Linked DNA regions of Homo sapiens: regions 1 and 3 are each linked to region 2. Evidence: promoter capture Hi-C in human tissues and cell types (Jung and others, 2019). All regions are on one chromosome and are shown on one strand. The core of a region is centred on a gene start or on the middle of the fragment in contact, and the rest is flanking DNA. Distances in the headings are between cores, read along the strand shown.

Evidence for each region. The method cuts DNA at HindIII sites, captures the fragments that hold promoters and counts their contacts. A contact is called where the count stands out against the background at its distance.
Region 1: a fragment that was not itself captured here is called in contact with the fragment with the promoter of APCDD1L in region 2 in 1 of the 25 tissues and cell types used here (IMR-90 fibroblasts).
Region 3: a contact is called between a fragment that was not itself captured here and the fragment with the promoter of APCDD1L in region 2, in 3 of the 25 tissues and cell types used here (H1 embryonic stem cells, IMR-90 fibroblasts and bladder).

What each region holds. Positions count from the first base shown.
Region 1 is chr20:58,697,659-58,700,621 of GRCh38, reverse strand. NPEPL1 (aminopeptidase like 1) reads right to left here. Exons shown (of 12, transcript NM_024663.4): 4 at 1,849-1,938; 5 at 1,344-1,425. STX16-NPEPL1 (STX16-NPEPL1 readthrough (NMD candidate)) reads right to left here. Exons shown (of 23, transcript NR_037945.1): 14 at 1,849-1,938; 15 at 1,344-1,425. Among named protein-coding and RNA genes, the nearest start is that of NPEPL1, 6.3 kb to the right of the region's middle. The HindIII fragment of the contact is 5,636 bases long and covers 1-2,963 here.
Region 2 is chr20:58,513,929-58,517,173 of GRCh38, reverse strand. APCDD1L (APC down-regulated 1 like) reads left to right here and starts at 1,775. Exons shown (of 4, transcript NM_153360.3): 1 at 1,775-2,515. The coding sequence starts at 2,467. It overlaps APCDD1L-DT (APCDD1L divergent transcript), which reads right to left and starts at 1,795. Exons shown (of 7, transcript NR_034147.1): 1 at 1,434-1,795. RefSeq lists an enhancer at 2,174-3,172. The HindIII fragment of the contact is 21,415 bases long and covers 1-3,245 here.
Region 3 is chr20:58,675,699-58,678,853 of GRCh38, reverse strand. STX16 (syntaxin 16) reads right to left here. Exons shown (of 9, transcript NM_001001433.3): 9 at 1-2,667. The coding sequence ends at 2,563. The region is part of intron 8 of STX16-NPEPL1 (STX16-NPEPL1 readthrough (NMD candidate)); the gene reads right to left. Among named protein-coding and RNA genes, the nearest start is that of NPEPL1, 16 kb to the left of the region's middle. RefSeq lists enhancers at 1,977-2,501, 2,502-3,027. The HindIII fragment of the contact is 6,742 bases long and covers 1-3,155 here.

The DNA of each region.
Region 1 (2,963 bases), core at 368-2,867, 180 kb before region 2:
CACACTCGCTCCCACAGTCCCTGCACCACTGCCTCTTTGGTTTACATGACACATCTTCTCAAGAAAGCTGTGGCCTGTGCGTGTGCAGAGTCTATGGCTCAAAGTCCTGCAATAATTGAGTCAAACAATCATAGCAACAATGACGAGAGCTAATCATGGCTGCCTGACAAACTCCAACTCATCCTGTAAGATCCACAGCAAATGCCACCTCCTCTGTGAAGCTTTTCCTGACACAAGCGGCCTCTCCCTCCACTTGTAAATGGCTCCTGTCTAGGTAGACACCACCAGGATGGCCCCTGTGGCCCCCACGTCTGGGTATTCATGTCCTTGTGCAGTCCCTCCCCCTCATGTGAGCAGGTCCTGATGTCTCACCTCTAACCAAAAGAAAAAGGTAGAAGTGATGAGATATCACTCCTGGGATTAGGTCACAGAAAAAGATGGGAGTTTCCATCTTGTTTGCTCGCTCTTTATCCCTATCTCTCGCTCAGAGACCTTGCTCGGAGGGTGGCTCAAACAGCAAGGACCTGCTGCCTCCAGCTAATGGCCTGTGAGGCCCTGAGACCTGCCAGCAGCCTGTTGTGAGCCTGCCCGGAAGCACATCGCCAGCCCCAGGCAAGCCCTCAGATGACTGCAGCCCCAGCCAACAACCTGACAACAGCAGGCAGAGACGCTGCACCAGGGGAAGATCCCCAACCCACAGCACGGGGAGGGGATAAGTGTTGCTGCATTCAGCTGCTATCTTCCGAGTGATTTGTTTTGTAGCCACACATAACACAGACAGCCGCCTTCCTCTTGCCAGTCTACAAGCACCACGGGGCAGCTGAGTCATACTTATCTGCCCCTCTGGTTCCTGGGCAGTGGGGAAAGGTGGGTCTGGGGACTTGGGGAAGGCCTCTCTGAGGAGGGGGCATTGGTTGAGATGGCCTCCACCAAAAATATATCTTGGGGGAAAGTATTCCAGATAGGGAGAGCCATCCGCACACAGGCCCTGCCTGCCGTGATGGGAACTTGTGTATTCAAGGAACAGAAAGGCCCTGCTGAGCCAGTCCCAGGAGTAAGGGTGTGCAGCACGCGAGGACGCTGGAGAGGCTGCAGGCAGGGAAGGACTTGGATCTAGCAGCTTCCAGAATCCAAATCAGAATCTGGATTGCCTCCCCTTCTCCCCCAGGGACGGCTGCTTCCCAGGGTCCGGCACTGGGCTTGGACACAGGCTGATTCCTTTCAGGTCACAAGCAGGATGAAGTTTGGGACAATGTGCCATGTGGCCCGCCGACCCCCTGCCACCCAAGTGCCCCTGGCCACTGCCCGAGGCCAAGAGCTGCAGGGATGCAGCCCCCACCCACCTCCAAATCCTCTCGTCTTCAGTTCCTCATCCCGGATGATGGTTGGGATGATCCCCAGCTCCTTTCCAACTTTGTTAATCTCCTGGACATGTTCATGGAAAAAACAACAGCACAACAACACATGAAGATGGCTGGAAACAGGAGAGGCCGAGGCTGGGGCCAGGGATGAACCGCTGCCTGTGCCGCGTCGGGGAGCCGGGCTTGGGAGCCAGCTTCGCGTGTGATGAAACCCAGAAGAGGGGGCTCACCCTCCACACACTCTCATTTCCTGTAGCTCTGGCTGTGGTCCTGCCAAGGGGCCTTGAAGAGGAGGCTCTGTCCTCCCCACACACCCTTTCCTGAGGCTTCCTGGAGCCCGGCAGACAGCAGCGCTCCGCCGAGGGCAGCCCTGAGGTTCCCTGGCCACGTCAGGGTGTGGACAGCCCCAGGTTTCCTCTGGCTCTCCTGGGAGTCTATGACACCCACCCCAGCCTGGTCCCACCCCCGGCCTGATGACGCCACAAACCTCGAGGAAGGTGTCGGTGTTCATCTCATTGCAGGGTGTGTCCACGATGCGGGCTGCTAGCCGCACGCCGTCTGTGGCATTCGCTAAGCACTAGGGAGAAAAAGGCCATCACTGGGGACCAGGTGGGAGGCAGATGTTCTCCCCTTGTCCATCCCCCAGGAACAAAAGGCAGCAGAGGCAAACATCACCCACAGGGCTACTGACAGGGCAGCAAAGAGAGGGGAGAGGGGGACCATGGCTCTCGCTGCCTGCCCCACCCCCAGCAACCCAGGGCCACCGGCCACCTGTAGAAAGAACCTTCAGCACAGCCACCACCCTGCGCCTCCACAAATATACAGGAGTCCCCAGCCTGGGGTCCTGCCCTTCTGTATCTGGATCTTTTCCAAGCCCTGTGTCCTGTTTCTCCCCTGATTCCAGCTACAACTGAAGGTAGGTGGCCCTCATGCCAGCCCCTGAGTATGCCCTGAGCTTCCCACGCCTCACCTCTGCAGATCCCACAGTCCTTTCCCTCCCACCAAGATCCCAGTCATCCTTCGAGGCACTTCTCATAGGCCGTATCTACCAGTAGCTTTTCCAGATCCTCCCCACCAAGCAGAAGCACTCTACATCCTGAGTGCTTGAACCTGCTGGCCCTCCCAGACGCCTTCCCTCTGGGCCGTTGCTTTCCTCATGAGTCCCACGCAAGTCCCTCATAAACCCTGCAAGACAGATGGGGGTCTGGCTGCCCTAGTGCTGTCACTTGACACAGCACGGTTCTGGGCACGGAGGGGAAGGACACAGAGGGAGGTCTCGCCTCATGGAACTGACGTGTCCACCCAGGAACTGAAAACATGGGCCCTGCTGGCCTGGCAGGGCTTCAGAGCCCACACTCGAAGGCAGGGCAGAGAGGGGCACATGCACCAAAGCACACATCACGTGGGTCCCAAAAATGTGTCCTTCAGCCCTGGCTTGGGCCATTCTTTGCCTTCTCATGTGTGTCTCACATCTGCCCTGGGAGCTTCACTCTCTCTCAGCTGAATCTGCGGGCACCCCTTCCCCACCCTGTTCCCCACTGTGCATCCCCAGGCACAGAAGCTTCAGACAGCTGGCTGCTTGCACGGCCTCCCTTGCTCACC
Region 2 (3,245 bases), core at 526-3,025:
AACCCCCATCAGCCGCCTGGGACTTTGAAATACCCACATCCGGAAAGCCCAGAGACTGAAGTCTCAAATGATTATGGCCAGAATAGCATGTAGTTTTAACTTTTTTTTTTTTTTTTTTGAGATGGAGTTTCACTCTTGTCACACAGGCTGGAGTGCAATGGCATGATCTCAGCTCACTGCAACCTCCGCCTCCCAGGTTCAAGTGATTCTCCTGCCTCAGCCTCTGGAGTAGCTAGGATTACTGACGCCCGCCACCACGCCCAGCTAATTTTTGTATTTTTAGTAGAGCCGGGGTTTCACCATGTTGGCCAGGCTGCTCTTAAACTCCTGACCTCAGGTGACCCACCCGTCTGGCTCTCCCAAAGAGCTGGGATTACAGGTGTGTGCCACGGCACCCGGCCTTAGCATGTAGTTTTTAAACTACCCATAATTGTAAATTTTGTACATTGAAAGACCCATAATTGCCACAAATAATCACAATTATGCAAGTATAAATAATCACCCTGCACAACTCTCCTCTTGCCCACAAAGTTATCCCTTTCATGAGAATTTAATATGTGACAATGGCCATTGTCTGCCAGGGAAAGCTCATACCGATTTCAGTTTCAGCAAGGCCACCTCGAGTCTCATAGAAACCAGAAAAAAAAAATGTCATTTTCAGGAAGCAAATTGATCGTTTTCCTCACATTTCCATTTGCGTTAAGATCATGGTGTGGCCTTGCTCTGGACTTTTTCCTATTCCCTGTTGCCTCTGGAGAGGAGGAAAGCTAAGGATGGCTGGTGGGCCCACATCGGGGGTCCCTGGGTGGATTGAAGGGCTCTTGTGGCTCCTGGAAGCCTCGCCCAAGTTTCTGGTAAGAAATCAAAAGGTGAGGTGGTGTCCCCTGTTCCCCTGTGGGATGATCAGCCCACAAAAGTGGGACAAATGAGTCTATAAAATGCTTCAGAGGGGCAGGTGGACTGCTCACTCGTGAGTCCCGGGAAACAGGCCTGGCCCAGTTCTCCAAACCTTTCCCCAGGGAGACCGCATCTCTGTCTTCTCTCTTCTTCTCTCTTCTCTCTTGTTCTCTCTTCTCTCTCTTCTCTCTTCTCTCTCCCCCTCCCTCCTCCTTCCTGGTTCTCTTTTTTCTGTTGATTTCACTCCCTCCTTTCTTTTCCCTTTCTCTTTCCTCCCCTTTCTCTCTCTTTCTCTGCCTGTTTCCCCTTTCCTCACTTTCATTTCTCTTTCTGTCTCTTTCTTTCTCTCCCTCTCTCAGGTCTCTCTTCTCTGTCTCTCTTCATCCTCAGTTTTCCCCTCTCTCCCCTCTTACTTTCTTTCCCTTTTTCCTTTTTCTTTCCATCTTCTTCCTCTCCCTCTCTGGGTTCGTGGCAACACAAGGAAACCCGCACATCCCCAGCCCGCAGCCTCGCCCCCTCGGTCCCACTGCAGTTACCCGGTGATCCATGCAGGTGGGAACAATCCAGTTAACTTTTCCCATCCGAGTGATTCTCTTTCTCTTCTTCATTCATAAATGCCATAACTCTCCCGGTCCTCCTTTCCAAGGCTCGTGCACTTGATTTCAAGGCTTGCCTGCCACCCAGGGTGCCACCAGAGTCCCAGTGCCTGGGTTGGGGGCTGGAGCGCACCCTTTGGGATCCCCCAGCCTGTCCTCCGCCTCACGGCTGCCTCGCTTCTGAGCTGCCACCCTCAGCTGACTCACTCAGATGAGATTTGGGAGGGAGGGGGGCAGGAGGAGGAGTTGCGAGAAGGAGGAAAACCCGCCTGGTCGGGTCCACACTTTGCCTAGATGCGTTTGGGTGTGGTGGGGAGCGGGTGACGGCCTCATTTACAGACAGAGGCCGGGGCTGGCTTCTAGGCGACCGGGTTGGCCACTTTCACTGCGCTTCTGGGTTTGCTGGGATCCAAGTTGACGCGACTTTTCCAGGAGTAGCTGGAAGACCTGAATAGAAACTTCAGGGGTCCCAGGACTGGCGGGGCTTAGAGGAACTCCCCGCCCCGCTTGCCCTTCCAGGGAACGGCCTGGCTAGGGGTGCGCTTTGACGCAAGGAGCGCATCGCTCTGCCTTGGCCGGGACCAGAGCTTGGGGGAGGCCTCCTTGCCCACTGCGAAGACTTTGGGGAAGGCGACGGCCAGGGGACGGACATCTGGGGGAGGGCTGGGGGTCTGAATGGCAGGAGCTGCACCAGGGGGCTGTGCGCGCTGCGCGGGTGTGCGCGCCTCGCCGGGGGCTGTCTCCACCTCTTCTGGCAAGTTGGACCTATGAGTGCGCAGCTCCGCTTACAACTATCAACAGCCGGGAAGGCTGAGCGCGTGTGAGCGCCGAGGGGGGCGCAGGACCCTCGCAACTTCTTCGCAGGACTCCAGCCTGGCCGCCGGCGCCCGCAGCCGTCCGAGAGCCCTGCGCCCGCGCCTCCCCTTGCGCACCGTGGCAGCGCCCGGCGGGCGGTCCTGCCAGCCCCGACGGGATGCCCGCAGCCATGCTCCCCTACGCTTGCGTCCTGGTGCTTTTGGGAGGTAGGTGCCACCCTCCCCCACCCGGCAAACTGGCTGAGCTCGGAAGGGAGGGAGCTCGCCGTCTAATGTCCCCTAAGGGCCCTTGGGGACTACGGCCCTGGGTCGGCCCACGCGGCTGCTATGCTGCGCCCTGCGCGCCTTTCTCCAGTCTCACCTGGCCGGCACCTGCGCGCCTCCAGGAGCTTCCTGGGGCCTGCGGGAGGGAGTCGCGTCACCTCGCAATATGAGAGCCGCTGCACTCTCTGCGCCAGTCGGGGCCTGGCCTGTAGGTACCCAGAGCTGCCCTTTGTGCCGGGCCCAGTGGGACCGGGGCCTCCAAGAAGATGCAGGAGGATCCCAGGCCCACTGAGACCCCCATGGTGCGGGACAAGCCCGGCTATTCAGACCAAGGTTACTGGGGTTGTTTTTGCCCACGGAATCCTGACCTGTGCGGGGTCGGGGCTTCTTCCTGCAGCAGGACTCGGGGAGAAGCTAGGGAGCGCGCAGTGACCCCAGGCTCGAGTTGTGCCCAGCAGGCCTGACAAAGGGGACCAAGGGGCTTCAGGAACCCCTGGTAGAGTAGTCAATGCCTTCTCCAGGACTAAGGGGTTCCCTGGTGGCTCTTCGTGGGGGTGGGGAGTAGGGTAGACAAAACTGTACAAAGGCCAGCTGACTGGAGTGTGCCATCACAGGGGCCCAGTCACCACTGACAAAAATGACAGTAACCACAGTTGAAGTGTGCCCAGCTGGG
Region 3 (3,155 bases), core at 510-3,009, 160 kb before region 2:
GAGTAAAGGGAAAGAAACCCTGAGGTACCATGATTCTTTTCTCTTACTTCCTCAAATGCTACTGATCTCTCCCCAAGTACAGGCTCAACAGAAAAATACAGTGGTTTGAGGACCCCAAGAAGTCAGCACACAGGCCAGGGGCCAGCTCCAGGCTGGGTCTGTCTCTCCCACCTTGGGAAACCCAGCGCTAAAACAATTTTTTTTTTTTTTTTTTGAGACGGAGCCTCGCTCTGTCACCCAGGCTGGAGTGCAGTGGTGTGATCTCGGCTCACTGCAACCTCTGCCTCCCGGGTTCAAGCTATTCTCCTGCCTCAGCCTCTTGAGTAGCTGGGATTACAGGCGTGTCCCACCCGGCTAATTTTTGTATTTTTTGTAGAGACGGGGTTTCACCATGTTGGCTAGGCTGGTCTCGAACTCCTGACCTCGTGACCGCCTTGGCCTCTCAAAGTCTGGGATTACAGGCGTGAGCCACCGAGCCCAGCCCCTCCTTAAAACAGTTTCTAATCAGATCCGTTATTTTACCCAAATGGGTTGAGGGAACAAAAACCAACCCTCATCACCCTATTTGGTGAAAATAAATATAAAAAAAGATGATCCTCTCTTAAAGGGTCACTTTCCTTCAGGGGTTTGTAAGGCTCAGCACTTTAAAAAGCTTGAACAGAAGTCCGGTATTGCCACTGTGGACTGTTTTTGAGGCAAGTTCCCTAATGTGGACAGCCCCACACCTAAGAGCAGCAGATCTAACTTGGAACGTCTCAACCATGGGTTAAAATCAGATGGGATGAAAGAACACCTGCAGTGACTCTCAACAGCTACGGAAGTCTCACATTGCAGGGCTGACTGATGAGGTGCTGGCTTCTTATTCTCCGGCCCTCTTTCCTAAGCAATGTTTGTCAGGGAATACCAGGTCCGCTTCCTGAAATGCCAGGGCCCCTCTAGGACCTTATCATTCCACAGCCACATCAGTAATAGGAAAACCACCAATGGCTACCTGGAGGTGGCACCAACTTGGAAAGGGAAGGCTGGGCAGGGGTTTGGACACTAAGCCCATGAGCTGTTTGGACAACTTCAATCTCTGGAATTGAGTTTAAATTTCTGTAAACAACTTTAAAGTCAACTCTAGAGAGACATTTTGTGTGACTGGTCCAAATAAAACAGCACATTTAATGAGGTCATATTCTTCTTAAACTTTTTAAGAGAAGCAAAAACAATGGAAAAGCCATTAAAATTTACACAAAGACCATTAAAACTCTACTAGTGTCAATTAAAACAAAGCCAATAAAACATGAACAACTTCAAAGTTACCATCACTTTCCACACTGTTCTACAGTTATAGGAATATATTCAAGCACCATATTGATAATAGGTAGGTAAACGATGAAGTCCTACTTTGGCGGTCTGACCCACGCTCACACAAACGAGGAGCTTCCTAGTCAAGATGCCCCCAGTCCTTGGCAATGTGCCTGCTTCCTGGGCATTGCTCAGTGGCAATGGAAGAGCCAATAAATCAAATCGCTGGTGGAATATTTTACTTTGAAATGGAGTGATGTTTGGTTAATAATTTGAGATCCACTAATCCTAAATGGGGTGACCCATTTAAAATGGCCTCTGTGTAAATTCACAGTTCATTAAATAGAGTCTGGTTTGAACAGGTCATTATGTAGTTAGTATATAAGTAATGGATTGAGCAAGGATGGCTGGGGATACCCATGGGGACACACTGGCTGAGTCTGGTGGCTTTCATAACACTGTCAAGCTTTCTTTTAATGTGAGATTCATTTAAATCACCAACTTAAATTTAGGTGGTTTTGCTTAGTAACCTCTTTTGGTTTACAGTAGAAAATGCAGTGCAAAAATTTTAAATGAGGAATATTCCATTTACAATTAATTTAAAACTTATGAAGCTGTTTTAACTGGCCCATCTAAATGTGTTAATTAACATCAATGATGGTTTCTTATTTTTCACACTTTGTTACTCTGATCATTAACAGTGATGGAAAAGCTAAATTAAGTTAATGGGGAACGGATTATAAATTCTTAAAGGACTTCTTAGTTTGTTTTCAACTGGAAAATATATAGAGAAAGATGAAGGGGCATTTTTGCCTCTACTCATCAATTTTTGGTACCAAATTTCTTAAAAACCAGATGGTTTAAAGAAAATTTTTCCAAAAATTATGTTAACATTCTGCTCAGACATGGCTGCTAAAAAAATAGCATATACACATATAATACTGAACAGCTTCTGCAGTGCCTGTAAACTCTCAGCTCATTTTCTCTTTCTAAAAAAAATATATATTATAACTGATCCCAGAACTCAATCTCTATTGTGCAGCAGTATCAAAGGTCCTTAAATTCTCAACAATGAAGGAAAAACAAAAACCCATTCCCCGGACCGCTTGAGCAGGACTAGGGAAGGAGGAGTCCGTGGATGCAAAGGTTCGCTGCCCCGACGCCCTCAGATTCCTCGAGGCTGCACCTCTGCGGGCAGCTGGCGGGGCGCAGGCCAAGCCCCTCACACCCGGGAGATCCACACGCGCGGCACACACGAAAACCCAATGCCACTTATCGAGACTTCACGCCAACGAGGACAACAATGAGCACAATGATGATGACAAATAATATTAAAATCACAAGCATCTTCCGATTCTTCTTTTGATACTGTTCTGCCTACAAAAAGAGGAGGGAAAAAAGGCCGTCATTTTCCCCAAAATCCCAAATCAAGTCCCACTCGTTTCCAGAATGAGGCTTCCAGATCTCTCTGCACAGTGACTGAGGTCTCTGCTACAGGCTACATGATTGTAATCCCTCCAATCAATCCCACGGAATTCAATCACCAGGAGTGGAAGAGCCCCATGATCCTGGTGCTGCTTATTTACCCTGGACGTGGAAATGGATTTGTTGGAAACCTACTACTAAGACAAAGCCTGACAGGGAAGTGAAAGCTCATGCTTCCGGGTGCAGCTGGGCCTGCTTCTCCCGGCTTTTCCTCCTGCAGGCCGTGGCAAGTGCCCCTGCAGCACGGGTCGCCTGTTCCCGGTCCGTGTTCCTGGAGCGAATGCACAGTTCCTTCACCGCGGAAGGAAACAACGGGCTGGAGGACCGTACCTGGCAGGTAGGCAACAGACACCCGGAAGAGGCCCCATTTCGACCTCCCC